Linked DNA regions of Homo sapiens: regions 1, 2, 4 and 5 are each linked to region 3. Evidence: promoter capture Hi-C in 16 types of primary human blood cells and fetal thymus (Javierre and others, 2016). All regions are on one chromosome and are shown on one strand. The core of a region is centred on a gene start or on the middle of the fragment in contact, and the rest is flanking DNA. Distances in the headings are between cores, read along the strand shown.

Region 1 (2,700 bases), core at 154-2,653, 250 kb after region 3:
TCTCTCCTAGTGGCTCACCTATATATTGACACTGCCTTTAGAATTTGGGTGTCGTGGCTTCATTGTTGCATCTGTGCTCCTCTTTCCCTACTAAATGTCCTTTATCAGGGACGGAGCCAGCAGCATTTGCTTGTTCTCAGCAATCTGAGTCTCTGGTCTTCCTTGTTCCCTGTTTGGGGGCTTCTGCATTGCCATTTGGTGGTGGTGGTGGTGGTGGCAGTGATGTATCTGTGTTTGCTTCTGTCTGTTCCAGCTCACTTAAGGTGTGATTGCTAAGTGAATGCTGCACCCTACTTTCATCTTGATTTTTAATATATTAAAATAAAATCTTTACTATTGTTTCTCTTTTTGAATTAATAGGTATTCAAAATAAACTCTCAGATAAACTCTCAAATTTTCAAAAACATGGACATAAGAAGATAAAGGCACAAATGGGGCCAAAGAAGTCCACAATTTGTTTTTTCTTGATTTCTGTATTAGTTGAATCTTGTGCAATGATTATATATTCTTATGAAATTATAAAAAAAGAATAGAGGAAAATATTAAGAACATTTGTCAGTGTCACCTCTTAAGGAGAATACAACCTTACAAAACACAGGTTAAATGGTATTAACTGGGTTTCTTAACTGATATTTTATAAATTCTTCTTCCTTTTGGGAGAAAGCACTACAGACCTACCAGTTTCCTCACCCCAGGTGCTAATGTGTGACATCTTACCGCCTCTCCTGGTCACCAGTCCAAGTGAGAGGCCCCCTTTTCGTTTCTCCTTGACCTTCTGTGTTCCAGGCCTCCTCTTCTGGTTTGATGTCCCGTCTGTGCTGCCTGGTCTCCCCTCCCCAGCTGGAGGAGTGACTCTCTGTAGTGATCAGGACTCTCTGTATTGTAGGTGGCAGATGCCTTTGTGTTCCTTGCTGACCTGCCTGGGCCTCAACGTCTTGTTCCTCACTTTGAATGAGGGTAAGAACTGCCTTCAGGGGCCAGTGGTTTTTGTGAACGAATGTGGGGGAAGAACACCTGGATGCAGCCCCACCCTATGTGTGGGAGCTGCTCTTGTTGCCCTGGAGTTAGTGTTCCTCTGTGTCTGCTTGGAGTCAGAAACAGCCTCCAGAGGGACGATCCAGGCTGAGCTGCCTGCTGTGACCTTGGGCAGATTATTGAACTTCCCTGTTAAGGCCTAATTTTCCTTACCTCTAGAGGGAGGATAAAAATGACGCTTTCCTCCTAGAGTATTTGTGAGGAATGCGGCAGTCTAGGCATAATACTTAGCACAGTGCCTGGCGTGGAAGAGGCAGCCAGTGCATTGTAGCTGCTCTCAGTATTATCGTTGTTTCCTTCTTGACTTCCTGCTGAGGATGCATTGACCTTTTTCCATTTTGGTTTTTAAGCTGATTCAAGGGTCATCTGGGGACATGGCATGAGTAAAGGTACTGGGATGAGGAGCTGATAAGGGATTTTTGCCATATCTGTTGCTTTTCTCTGGTTCAGCTAGTGAGCCTAACGGGAGCTGCTGGGCAGTCACCAGCAGTGAGGAGTGGCATGAAGCCTTTGAGATAGAAGTGTGGACACATGGGTGTCTGTTGGGGTCATGGGTAATGTCTTCTATGAACCTCTTACTACAGTGCATACCGTGACCCTACCCTATCCGTGGTTGGCGCTGGCAGATGGCCACATAAAAAGCCAAACCCCTCAGGGTGAGAATAAAGAGTCTGGGACAGAATGTTTGGAGGAGCTGGGCCATTATTCATGTTTTTGTTCTTTTACTTACCTTGTATTTCTCAGGTGTCTTCTTTGTTTCCTCTGGAGATAGGGATTGAGTAGGTTGAAAATAAATCCAGTTCATATAAGATCTCATTTTCTGTTTCTTAGTTGGACTCATCTTTACCTGTTCAAAACTTCCTAGGATGTTTGATTTTTCTATATATGCTCCCAAAGTAAGTCAGTTCCTATGACAGATGTTTAGTAAGCATTTATTATGGGCCCGCTGCTCTGTTAGCTTGTTGTTGGGGTGCCATGTTACATGGAAGAAGTTCTTTCTTTGAATTTTATCTCGGCTTCGCCATTTCTCAAGGCACAATCGTCTGCAGTGTCCTAAAAGCTGAACGAAAGGCTTCTAGCTTCCTTAGTGGCCCAGAGGTCCGAGTGTCAGGCATCAGGAGCTCCTGGCAGTCACACTCCAGCGTGAGCCTCCTCTGTGCTAGCAGCATCTTAAAACGTATTAAAAGTGAGGATGGGGCCACAGCAGTGACCAAAGGGACAAAGTCCCAGCCCTCAAGAGCTTACTTCATTAGAGGAGACAACAGACATGCCTGCAATGTGTCATGTGGTGATAAGGTCTATGAGGAATGAAGCTGGGTTAAGGGGGCTGGAGAGTAGGGGTGAGACACTGTGTCGTACAGAGCTATCAGGGAAGGCCTGACTGGCAGAGCCCTGGAGGAGGTGAGGAACAAGCAGTGGGCGTCTGGGTGGGCCGACTCCTGGTCTTTGCTTACCTGTGTTACCTGCAGTGTTTTTGATTCTGCAGGTGCATGGTACTCAGTAGGTGCCCTGATGATTTCAGTGCCCGCCCTGCTGGGCTACCTTCAGGAGGTTTGCCGGGCACGGCTGCCTGATTCCGAGCTGATGCGGAGGAAGTATCATAGCGTGAGGCAGGAGGACCTGCAGAGAGGTCGCCTGTCTCGTCCCGAGGCCGTGGCTGAGGTG
Region 2 (2,700 bases), core at 193-2,692, 160 kb after region 3:
TTATAGTAAGCATTCATGAAGTACCAGCTGAGTCAGTAAATGAATATGAAATCATGAGAAACAATACCAAAGTTCTTCCAACTTTAGGTCTAGCGAGAAAATGTTTGACCAGGCTTCTAGTTCCCATTTCACATCTAATTCACTGCCTGGCTTTGTACAGCTCATTCCTTCTCTTTATGCCTTACTTTTCCCTCTCTGTGCAGATAGTTTTACAGCATGCTTTGAACATCTTGTATGATAATTAATGTTCTTAAGTCTCCTAACCTGAAATGCTTCTACTAGGCTCCTCTTAGACTCTAGAAACTTTTACATTCTCCTTGCTTATCACTCTATAGTTTTCTTCCTTTACTAGGCAAATAGCAGACCGTGTCTGGCTCTATGCCTACCTGCTCTGTTGGTGCTTCTGGAGTGTGGTGCCCAAGAATCAGAGGACTTGAGTTTGAATTCTTGCTCTGCAGTTTTTGATTTGTGTAACACTTGGGCAAGTCATGTAACCTCCCTAGGCTCAGTTTCCTTACTGTAAAAATAGGGATATAAATAGTTCCTACTTTGTAGAGTGGCCATCAATATTACACAAGACAGCCTATATGAAGCACATAGCTGAGTGAGTGCCAGGCACAACGTAAACCCTCCATATGTTAGCCTGTGATATTTTTATCAGCTATTCTAATCGTTAGTGTCACCCCCACAATCCCTTTCGTCCCTATCTTTGGTCTTCCTCTTTCCCTGTTAGAGAACCTTCACGAGGCCTGAGGATCTTTTGCATCAGAAAGTCAGCAACAACAAAAATACTTGTCTTGGCTGGGCTCATTGGCTCACGCCTGTAATCCCAGCACTTTGGGAGGCCTAAGTGGGTGGATCACCTCAGGTCAGGAGTTCGAGACCAGCCTGGCCAACAGGGTGAAACCCTGTCTCTACTAAAAATACAAAACTTAGCTGAGCATGGTGGTGCGTGCCTGTAATCCCAGCTACTTGGGAGGCTGAGGCAGGAGAATCGCTTGAACCTGGAAGGCAGAGGTTGCAGTGAGCTGAGATTGTGCCACCACACTCTATCCTGGGCAACAGAGCGAGACTCCGTCTCAAAAAAAAAAAATACTTGTCTTCCATGAGACTGAGATGAGACAGAACTTTGGAAGCTTAACATATAGCTGCTGGAGAATAGTAAGAGGACTCCTCTCCCTGTCTCCCCAACTCTTGTGACAGGACTCTATCCAGTTGATCAGAGCATCTGTCATTATAGAAACAAGGTTCACATTGCATTGGAACTTCAAATGGTAAGGCTCTAATTCTCACTCACTGGCTGTCTCTGCTCTCTGCTCCTATGAGGTTTCAGGTTATGATAGTTTCATTAGTCATGGGGAAAAAGTGGTTTGTTAGGAAGAATGATAGAAAATAAATATGATGGGGGCAAAAGGGGATTTATGGCTTGAGAGAGCCAGGAGTTTCACTGTGGACACTGGCAAGGTAGCCTTAGGAAAGCTCTTTTTCCTTCATTCCTATGCCTGAGTTTTCTGATTTGTAAGGCAGGGAGTGCCTACTACAGTACCATGCACATCCATTTTAGGTAGTCTATTAATACTAGATGGTAGCATGGAGCGATAGATGAGAGGCAGTTATTTTGCCTCTCAGGTTCATGGGAAAAAAAATAGTTATTTGTAATAAATTTTACAAGGCTTAGGAAAATACCTTTCTTATAAGTTTGATTTTAGGTATTTATATGCTAAAACTCACTTGTTGCTGTCTCTGAAAGAAGCTTGTAACTCATTCTTCATTCACTTAATAAATATTTAATGAGCATATGCCAGCTACTGTGTTAGGTGCTGTGGATGCTAATATAAATAAGATGTTCTCCGCTTCCTCAAATCTCATTCATTTTAAAGGAGGAGTTAGATATACAAATGGATAATTACAAGACAATGTGATAAGTGTGACAATAGATGCATATGTGGATTACAATTACGTCACTGCAATTTGACTTAAGTATAATATTGATGGCTCATAAAAATTTTTTTTAGAATAAGTAATGCATGCATCTAGTATAAAAATCAGAAGGCACATAGGGTAAACAGAGAAAAGTAATTCAGACTCCCTGCTACCCCTATCTCCTGGCCATTCAGTTTCCTTCCTCAGAGGCAGCCAGGATTACAGTGTATAGCCTATACATAAAAATAGCAGTTAATTAAAATGAAAACCAATTTTAATGTTTGTGTTTTGAATACGAATAATTTCACAAAGTAAAAAAATTCAAAAGGGCCCGGGCACAGTGGCTCATGCCTGTAATCCCAGCACTTTGGGAGGCCGAGGTAGGAGGATCACCTGAGGTCAGGAGATCAAGACCAGCCTGGCCAACATGGTGAAACCCTCTCTCTACTAAAAATACAAAAATTAGCCAGGAGTGGTGGCACACACCTGTAATCCCAGCTACTTGGGAGGCTGAGGCATGAGAATTGCTTGAATGCGGGACTTGGAGGTTGCAGTGAGCCGAGACTGTGCCACTGCACTCCAGCCTGGGCAACAGAGTGAGACTCTGTCTCAAAAAAAAAAAAAAAAAAAAATTTTTTTTCAAAAGGAAATGAAGGGGTACAGAGTAAATTGCAACTTGTTTGTCTCTGGAAAGAAGATGGGCATTTGGCCTAATCTAACCCAGGAGATGACAGTGTTAATCCTTGTACTTCATACTAGCTGCTGTAACAACCCTTA
Region 3 (2,700 bases), core at 138-2,637:
GTAAATTGTAAACACTGATAACACACTACATTTCATAAAATTGTAAGATGTTAAGTTTGGTGGCAGCACCAGGTATTTGCTCCTTGATGCTTCCAAACTACGCTGCACACACCTCTTACAGAATGGTTGCCTCTCCCAGCATACTATAAGTTCCTGGTGGGCACAGATCTAACCTAATTTGTATTTATATTCCTATTGCTTTGCATCATGTTTGGGGAATAATATGTATTCAACAATAGTGGCATGATTGAATTAAAGTGGAATACTGCTAACGAACAAAGTATTATATTTCTAGCAGATTCACTATTCTTTTCTTACATATTCTAAAGGTTAATACGCTCAATATCCAAGAGAAATGTGTCCTTACTTCTCTCCAAGCATACGAAATTTCCAAAGTTTTTTTAAAAAAACTACTCATTAGATAATTTTATATTGTTACTTAAACCCAAGATCTGAAGGCCTCCTAACATTCAATAACTTTTTAGTAGTTTTTTTTTTTTCCTAGAAGAGCAAAGTCTCAGAACTCCACGGAAGCCTGGAAATCGTTTTATTCTAATTTTAGATAAGCTGTCTGAACTAAGAGATCTCTGAACTGGTCAAAAGCAGGAAAGTGGGGGTCTGGGAAGAAGACAAAAACAAACGCCACATAAAACGTCATGGAGCAAACTAATCAAGAACTTTAGCAAGAAACGGAGAGAAAGTCTTAAGGAGGACACCCAGAACATCTCCAGCTCCTCCTGGCCCGTCTCCTCAACTCCTCTTAATTCCAGCCAGTCAGAGCGCGGGGCCATCTGCCACTCCCAGGATGCCACGCGACGGGAGCGGACGCTGCGAGGATGCACCTCCACACGTCAACCTCCCACAAACAGCATGGCTTCGTGGCGTGAGCACCCGGTTCGGACCTGAACGCCTGGGTCCGAGTCCCACCTCCCCCTCCTGCCTGGTCTGCAGCCCTGCGCAAGTCCTCTTGCCCTCGCTGAGCCTCAGTTTCCTCATCTGTAAAATGTAATGATTCCCTATAATTGGCTACAGGGAGATGAGAAGTGTAAATGGTTTTAAGGAAGACACAGGCAACTCTCTAACTTGTTACGGCTCTGAACCTCGCGGTGCTCACTAACCAGCCTTGAGACCAATCTCTCAAAGTCACCCCGCTCCTCCCTTCCCGCCCGGCGCCTGTACTGAGGCCGCTCCCTCCTGTTGGCCCCCATGCGGAAGGCGCGCGGCGCCGTCTGCCGTACCTGCAGCCACCTGGTCAGCGGGGCCCTCTTGCTGACCCACGACGAAGTCGTGCACGAGGCCCCATAGGGCACCCATAGGCGCCGCCGCCTCCACAGCCGCGGCAGCGGCCATAACGCGAACTAGAGACCGTGGGAGGGGATATGGGCGGTGGCTCGAGACGGGCTCTCCGCGCATGCGCCTCCCGAGCCAATCTCCGGGGAAGCGCAAGGGGGCGGGGCGCCGGGGTCACGTGCCTGCCGGCTTCTGCCTAGGCAGTTCCAGGGAGGGGCGGGGCCTGAAATGGGGCGGTGGCACCGAGAGGGAAGGCGGCTGCTGGGCACGCAGCCGGAGGCGATTGAGGGCGAATAATTCCCAGCCCGGCTCCCCGGGAGACGGGCTGCGGGGCGGGCACCTGGCTGGGTGGGGAGAGGGGCGGTACGCACCACGGGGGAAGCCAATGAGAAAATCAGGCCCAGCCCTAGGGGGCGGTGCTGTCGGTCACATGCGCACCTGGGGCGGGTGGTGGCGGCGGCGCGGGCACCGCGAGCCGGCGGAAGGGAGAGGGGCCGGCCTGGGGCGGGGTTAGGCAGGTGAGTGACAGGCTCCAGGGGGCCGGCCCCTGCCTGGTGCCCCGAGCGAGCCGGGAGTAGCTGCGGCGGTGCCCGCCCCCTCTCTCCGCCCCTCCAGCGGAGCTGGTCTCCGGCCGGGCACCGTCGCGGGCCCCCCTGGCCCGGCCACCTGGGACCGTGCTGGGGAGTCTGCCACTTCCCTCTCTCCCCTGGCCCGCAAAGTTTTGGCGGAGCCATCGCTGGGGCTGAGCGCGCCCCCGGGGGGAGATCGGGGAGCGCCCGATGCCGGGCGGCCGGAGCCATTGACCCGGGACGCCGCCGTCCGCTGAGCAGCCGACCACCCCGCCGCCTCCGGTGCATGGGGACTGGCTGAGGAGCCAGCATGGGCAACTGCGTGGGGAGACAGCGCCGGGAGAGGCCGGCAGCCCCGGGACACCCCCGCAAGCGAGCAGGTAACGATGGGGAAGGGAGCAGGGCCTCGGGCATCCCGCCAGTTGTCCCCCTCCTCGCCCGAGTCCTGGGCTTACCGATGGACTCCCCACTGGTGCTGGCGCTTGGGTTTCCCCGATGGGCTGCTCCGCAGCCAGAGGGGGCCGCTCCCCAGCGCCGGGCGGCCGGGGGAGCTGAGTTGGGGCAACTGCGAGCACTGAGCCGGCTGCGCGACCAACTCTCTCCAACTGGGTAGCTCCTGGTGGGGGTGGGGGCAGGAAATGTTTGCAGACCGCAGCGGGGCCGACGGATCGGGAGGAGGCCGGGGGCGAGGGCGCCGCTGGCCTGGCAGCTCCGGCCGGGGTCGGACGCCGGCCCGTCGGGGCACGGCGCGGGCAGCCAGGCGTCCCCAGAACTCGGAGCGAGCGAGGCGAGAACAGTCGCTCCTTCCAAAGACTGTGTCATTATCGAGCTGCAGATCGTG
Region 4 (2,700 bases), core at 77-2,576, 230 kb after region 3:
GCCTTTTGCAATCTTGTCCTGTACTCTGTTCTGTCTCCTTTTGTGTCTCCCAGGCAGTTAGCATGACTCGTTCTAATTTTTGGGTGAGCTCAGGCTGTGATGTCAGAGGTGAGCTCTATCTCTTATTAGTTGTCCAGTCTTAGGCAATTTATGAAACCTCTTTGCCTCTTAGCTTCCTCACTTAGTAAATGGGGATAATATTAGTACCTACCTCACTGGGCTGTTGAAAGAGCTTCATGAGATGAGGCGTGCCTGGCAATTTCATCAGTGCAATTCAGCCCTCAGCAGTATATGTTTGTTGGGAGGATTTCATAAGATATACATAAAATGCTGGGCTCAACGCCTGACCCACAGTCATAGTTAGTGCTCATAAATGTGAACTCCCTCCTGCCCCATTCCACTCTGGGTCTCCCTGCACCTAAGGAATGATAATCTCACCAGCCTTGGCTAATCCTTCTTTCTCATTGGTGTCTACTGTTCTTTCTTGAATTCTTTCTTGTGTGTGTGTGTGTGTGTGTTTTTTTTTTTTTTTTTGAGACGGAGTTTCACTCTTGTCACCCAGGCTGGAGTGCAATGGAGTGATCTCAGCTTACTGCCACTATGGAGGCTGAGGCAGGAGGCTCACTTGAGCCCAGGAGTTTGAGGTTGCAGTGAGCTATGATTATGCCACTGCACTCCAGCAAGACCCTGTCTCAAAAAAAAAAAAAAAGAGAAAGAAAACATATTCATAATGTCCAAAAGCTTCCCTGTGCTCTTTGTACTCCCTCTTCTTTCCTTCCCATCTCCCCCACACCAGGGAACCATTGATCTGCTTTCTATGATTATAGAATTCTAGAATTTTATATAAATGAAATGTATAGTATGTGCTCCTTTTGGGAGAGGGCGGTATCTGGCTTCTTTCACTCAGCTTAATTATTTTGAGATTCATTCATGATGTTGCAGTAACAGTAGTTCATTTTCATTGCTGAGTGAATATACAGATACACTATAATTTGTTTAGCCTGTTGATGGACATTTGTGTTGTTTCAAATTTTTGGTTATTGCAAATATAGCTGCTTTGAACGTTCATGTACACGTCTTTGTGTGGACACATATGCTTTAATTTATTTTGGGTAGACAGCTAGCAGTGGAATGGCTCATTTGTGTGGTAGGCTTATTGTTTTTATTATTTTAAAATTGTCTATACCCCAGATGAAATCTGGTGTGTGTGTGTGTGTGTGTGTGTGTGTGTGTGTGTGTGTGTGTTCTTGCTTGGGATTTGTAACAGAGGGGGTGATTCTGGACTCACAGACTAAATTAGGAAGTTTTTCATACTGTTCTATGCTCTGGAATAGTTTAACTATATCATTTTAAAAAATGGGTTCTAGCTGGCACGGTGGCTCATGCCTGTAATCCCAGCACTTTGGGAGGCCAAGGGGGGCAAATCACCTGAGGTCAGCAGTTCGAGACTAGCCTGGTCAACAAGTGTTCAATAAATACATCTTTATGTATTTATTTACTAGACCATTAAGTTTAGTAGAGACCAACCCTACCTCTCCAAAAAAGCAGAAAAATTAGCTGGTTGTGATGGCAGGTGCCTGTAGTCCCAGCTACTCGGGAGGCTGAGGCAGGAGAACTGCTTGAACCCAGGAGGCAGAGGTTGCAGTGAGCCGAGATCGCGCTGTACTCCAGCCTGGGCAACAGAGAGAGACAGACTCCGCCTCAGAAAAAAAAAAATGGGTTCGATAAAATTTGTCTATGAAATAAATCTGGGCCTGATGCCTTTTGGGTTTTACATTTTTATTTCTTTTTATTTTTAATTCTTTCAAGTTTGTAAATGATAGTTGGTGTATTCAGGTTTTTTGGTGGGTCACGTACTGCTCTCCCATTGGTGGTATACTTATTCAGGGTGTCTGTCTGTCCCACTAGGCTGTAAGCTTTTCAGGAAAGAATTCCAGGCTCTTCATCTCTATAATCCCATGAAAGGCACATGATACGTAGTCATTTGGTGGAATGAATAAATGCTGATGGCTAGCTGCTATAACAAATACACCTCAGCATTTCAGCAGTTTCATATAATGAAAATCTATTTGTTATTCATATACAAATCTATTTCTTCCTCACATAATTGTGCACTGTGGCTACTCTGGGGCAGAGGGAGACGCTCCACCATACGGTGACTCAAGGACCCAGGCTCCTTCCACCCCGTGGCTCGGCCATCTGCTCTGCACTGAGCTCGCAGGTGAGGGAGGAGAGGCAGGAGAAGGTTTCCTGCTTCCTGCATACCTTCATCTAGAAGTAACAGTCAGCGCTCCCACTCACCTCCTTGGGAGTAACAGGACCTGACCTATAAGCAGAGGATGCTGGGAAATGTAGTCCCTAGCCAGGCAGCTGCTGCGTAGCAACAACTCTATATCATGGTAGGGGGCACAGGACTTTTTGGTGGACAGTTAATCGTCGCTTTCAAGGGAGGCACAAGGTTTTATTGCTGAAGTTTTCATTGCCTTGCTCTGTGAACTCTTTTAGTGCCAGTGTTTGATGAATGGTTGTTTTCATGGCTGCCAAGAGCTGTTGAGTAAGAATGTAACTGCAGACAGTCATTTCCTTGCTGTGTTTGTCCAACAACCACTGTCTCACAGCTGGAAAACTCATTACTCATGAGTACTTCTTTCCCAGGTACAAGAACATAAAGATGTATTTATTGAACACTTTTTAGGGCAA
Region 5 (2,700 bases), core at 189-2,688, 160 kb before region 3:
GAGTTCACATCTCCCACCTTCACCAGCCACCGAATCGGTGGGAAAAAGGGGCAATGCCAAGCCACCCACCACCAAACTTTTACATTCTTCTCCCCTCTGGAATTTCTTTGCACAGCAATTGTAGCACCACTTACTAAGCTCCTCCACCAGAAAATAAGAAAATGTATGCGTGTCGTTAGTTTTCAAGTATTGTTATAAAGCCATCGCGATTCCTACCCCTGAGCCCTCCTTAAACAATCCAAGCTCACGACGCCCCCAAGGGCTAAGTGAGGTACAAGTCGATGCAAGTAGCTGCCATAGTTCTCCCAGTTTATCCCAGGTCCTTGGGCTTGGATGGCCCGGGAAATTCTCATGCCCCACGGAAGCACCCTGGCGCATACATTTCTCCACGCTTAAGTTTTCTCCGACGGCCTCGCCGCGGCTGGTAACTTCTCTGGTTGAGATCTCTCCCCACGCGCCTCCCCGCAGCCAAAGTGGTCGCTCCCAGGCTGGCGACGTCGGCTTCAGCTCAGAGTTAGTAGGAACTGGACGCTGTTGGGTCTACGCAGCGGCCTCCACTTCCTCCTCCAGGAGGCCTGCGTCAGAGCAAGGAGCCTGAGGGCTGCAGGGCAATGCGGTCAGGTCCGCTGCGGCCTCCCCCGGGCCCAGGGGCGCTTGCGGGGCCCGTGGCTGCAACCGCGGCGACGGCTCGTTGGAGTCTCCGCACGGCTTCCTTGATGAGGTTTCCCGAGAGCACGAGCTGCTGGAGGAGCCGATGCGGGTCGTCGTCGCCGGCGCGTGCCCCGGCTTGGGTCCATCGGCGCTGCTGCAAGCGGCGGGAGGTGACCGCGTCCCTGAGCCATCCTCGCCGGCACGGCCCCGGCAGCGCGCTGGGGCCTGCGGCGACCTCCGCCACGCAGTAGGGCGCAGCGCGTCCGCGCACGCGGCCGCGGTCCCCTAGGGCGCAGCGCAGGGCCCCAGAGGGCGCCGGGCCCACCGTCTCAGCCGAAGCGGGCGGCAGCAGCAGCGGCACCGCCGGGGGCCGGGCCTTGTCCGCCGGCACCGCCGCAGCCAGGGGCCCCGGGGCCCGCAGCGGCACCCCCGGGGGCGCGCACGGCGAGGCCGGGCTGTCCTGCGCCGCGTCCAGCTGCAGCGTCTCGCCGATCTGGGCCACCAGCCGGTCCACCTCGCCCGAGCTGCCCAGCGTCACCGACTGCTGCAGCAGGAGGAAGCTGTCGTCCTCCTCTTCCTCCCCCTCCGCCTCCTCGCCGGCTTCCTCTTCCTCCTCCCTCCGGCACGGCATGGCCCCCCGTCCTGGCACCCGGAGCTGTGCGGGCTTCGCTGGGGGCTTGGTTGCCCGCGGGCGCGGAGCTGCGGGCGAAGCCGGAGCAGGGGCGGACGCGGAAGCCGGAGCCCGCCAGGCACTCGAGCCACGCGCCTGCAGCCGCTGGAGCCGGAATCCTGCCGGCTCGGGTTGATTTGTAAACAATGGGTGACGTCGCGCCGGGCCCTACCACCGCACCGGGGCGGGGGTGACGCGCGAGCAGGCACGGGGGCAAAGGGCGGCGCGGGCGGTGACCGAAGCCGTCCCGCGCCTGTGTTCGTTGTCCCTCCAGGAGGGGGTCCGGGGCGTGGGGACTGATTTCCGACCTCCCGGGCCCAACGAGCCGTGCTGAAACGTGGCGCCTCGGAGGAGGCTGAGGTTGGTTTCTCCCACGCACGGACACACCCACACCCACTCCGGGCCCGCCTCCTGGGCCGCGGCCTCCCTCCCCACGTGTCGGCCGCGCCTAAGCCCGCCCGACTCCCGCCCCGCGCACCCGCAGTTCCCGGCCCTGGTCGTGGGGGAGGGGCGGGCCGCCGCGGGTCCGGCTTCGACGAGGCGGGGCGGGGAAAGGCGGAGGGAATTGGGAGTGAAGAGGCGGCACGTTACTTATTTACTTATTTATTATTTAGAAAAGGTCTCTGTCGCCCAGGCTGAAGTATAGTGGCGCGAACACGGCTGACTGCAGCCTCGAACTCTGGCTTAAGTAATCATCCCACTTTAAGCCTCCGGAGCAGCTGGGACCACAGGCGCGGCCACCACGCCTGGCTAATTAAAAAAATTTTTTTTGTAGAGACGGTGGTGGGGGGGGGGGGTCTCACTATATTGCCCAGGCTGGTCTCGAACTCTTGGGCTCAAGGAGTCCTCGCTCCTCGGCCTCCGAAAGTGTTGGGGTTACTGGCGTCAGCCGCCGCGCCCGGCCTAAGAGGGGACGCTTTGAAGCAGAGCAGAATCGCTCTGAGGTGAGGTCCCAGAGGCTTTCCCTCCCGCAGTCTTCAAGCCCCCGGACATATCATGAGAATAGGACTCACCGCCGCTCGGCTAAAGAAGGGTCTTTTTTTTTTTTTAAGGTTCAAATAGAAATATAGGGGATTGGCCAGGAGCGGTGGGTGGCTCATGCCTGTGATCCCAACACTTTGGGAGGCCGAGGCGGGCGGATCACCTGAGGTCAGGAGTTCCAGACCAGTCTGGCCAACATGGTGAAACCCCATCTCTGCTAAAAATACAAAAATTAGCCGGGCGTGGTGGCGGGCGCCTGTAATCCCAGCTACTCGGGAGACTGAGGCAGGAGAATGGTTTGAACCCTGGAGGCGGAGGTTGCAGTGAGCCGAGATCACGCCACTGCACTCCAGCCTGGGCAACAAAGCGAGACTCCGTCTCAAAAAAAAAAAGAAAAA

The links. The method cuts DNA at HindIII sites, captures the fragments that hold promoters and counts their contacts. A CHiCAGO score of 5 or more calls a contact.
Region 1: a fragment that was not itself captured here is called in contact with the fragment with the promoter of MMS19 in region 3 in 1 of 17 cell types (neutrophils); the score reaches 6.5 in neutrophils.
Region 2: a fragment that was not itself captured here is called in contact with the fragment with the promoter of MMS19 in region 3 in 7 of 17 cell types (M0 macrophages, M2 macrophages, M1 macrophages and 4 more); the score reaches 12.2 in M0 macrophages.
Region 4: a fragment that was not itself captured here is called in contact with the fragment with the promoter of MMS19 in region 3 in 3 of 17 cell types (M0 macrophages, M2 macrophages and M1 macrophages); the score reaches 6.6 in M0 macrophages.
Region 5: a contact is called between the fragment with the promoter of FRAT2 here and the fragment with the promoter of MMS19 in region 3, in 6 of 17 cell types (neutrophils, activated CD4 T cells, monocytes and 3 more). The highest score is 22.4, in neutrophils.

The regions. Positions count from the first base shown.
Region 1 is chr10:97,742,208-97,744,907 of GRCh38, forward strand. It overlaps ZFYVE27 (zinc finger FYVE-type containing 27), which reads left to right. Exons shown (of 13, transcript NM_001385875.1): 3 at 887-957; 4 at 2,522-2,700. Among named protein-coding and RNA genes, the nearest start is that of ZFYVE27, 6.4 kb to the left of the region's middle. The HindIII fragment of the contact is 7,063 bases long and covers 1-2,700 here.
Region 2 is chr10:97,652,836-97,655,535 of GRCh38, forward strand. All of the region lies in intron 2 of PI4K2A (phosphatidylinositol 4-kinase type 2 alpha), which reads left to right. Among named protein-coding and RNA genes, the nearest start is that of PI4K2A, 14 kb to the left of the region's middle. The HindIII fragment of the contact is 617 bases long and covers 1,135-1,751 here.
Region 3 is chr10:97,497,035-97,499,734 of GRCh38, forward strand. MMS19 (MMS19 cytosolic iron-sulfur assembly component) reads right to left here and starts at 1,388. Exons shown (of 31, transcript NM_022362.5): 1 at 1,239-1,388. The coding sequence starts at 1,350. It overlaps UBTD1 (ubiquitin domain containing 1), which reads left to right and starts at 1,890. Exons shown (of 3, transcript NM_024954.5): 1 at 1,890-2,239. The coding sequence starts at 2,170. RefSeq lists enhancers at 513-1,043, 720-769, 1,130-1,299 and silencers at 1,540-2,299, 2,310-2,509. The HindIII fragment of the contact is 10,400 bases long and covers 1-2,700 here.
Region 4 is chr10:97,724,491-97,727,190 of GRCh38, forward strand. No RefSeq gene overlaps it. Among named protein-coding and RNA genes, the nearest start is that of ZFYVE27, 11 kb to the right of the region's middle. The HindIII fragment of the contact is 1,175 bases long and covers 740-1,914 here.
Region 5 is chr10:97,333,291-97,335,990 of GRCh38, forward strand. It overlaps FRAT2 (FRAT regulator of Wnt signaling pathway 2), which reads right to left and starts at 1,439. Exons shown (of 1, transcript NM_012083.3): 1 at 1-1,439. The coding sequence starts at 1,282. The coding sequence ends at 581. It overlaps LOC105378448 (a long non-coding RNA gene), which reads left to right and starts at 1,556. Exons shown (of 2, transcript NR_188201.1): 1 at 1,556-1,681. RefSeq lists an enhancer at 150-1,057 and silencers at 608-657, 668-797, 1,138-1,287, 1,378-1,527, 1,658-2,007. The HindIII fragment of the contact is 20,442 bases long and covers 1-2,700 here.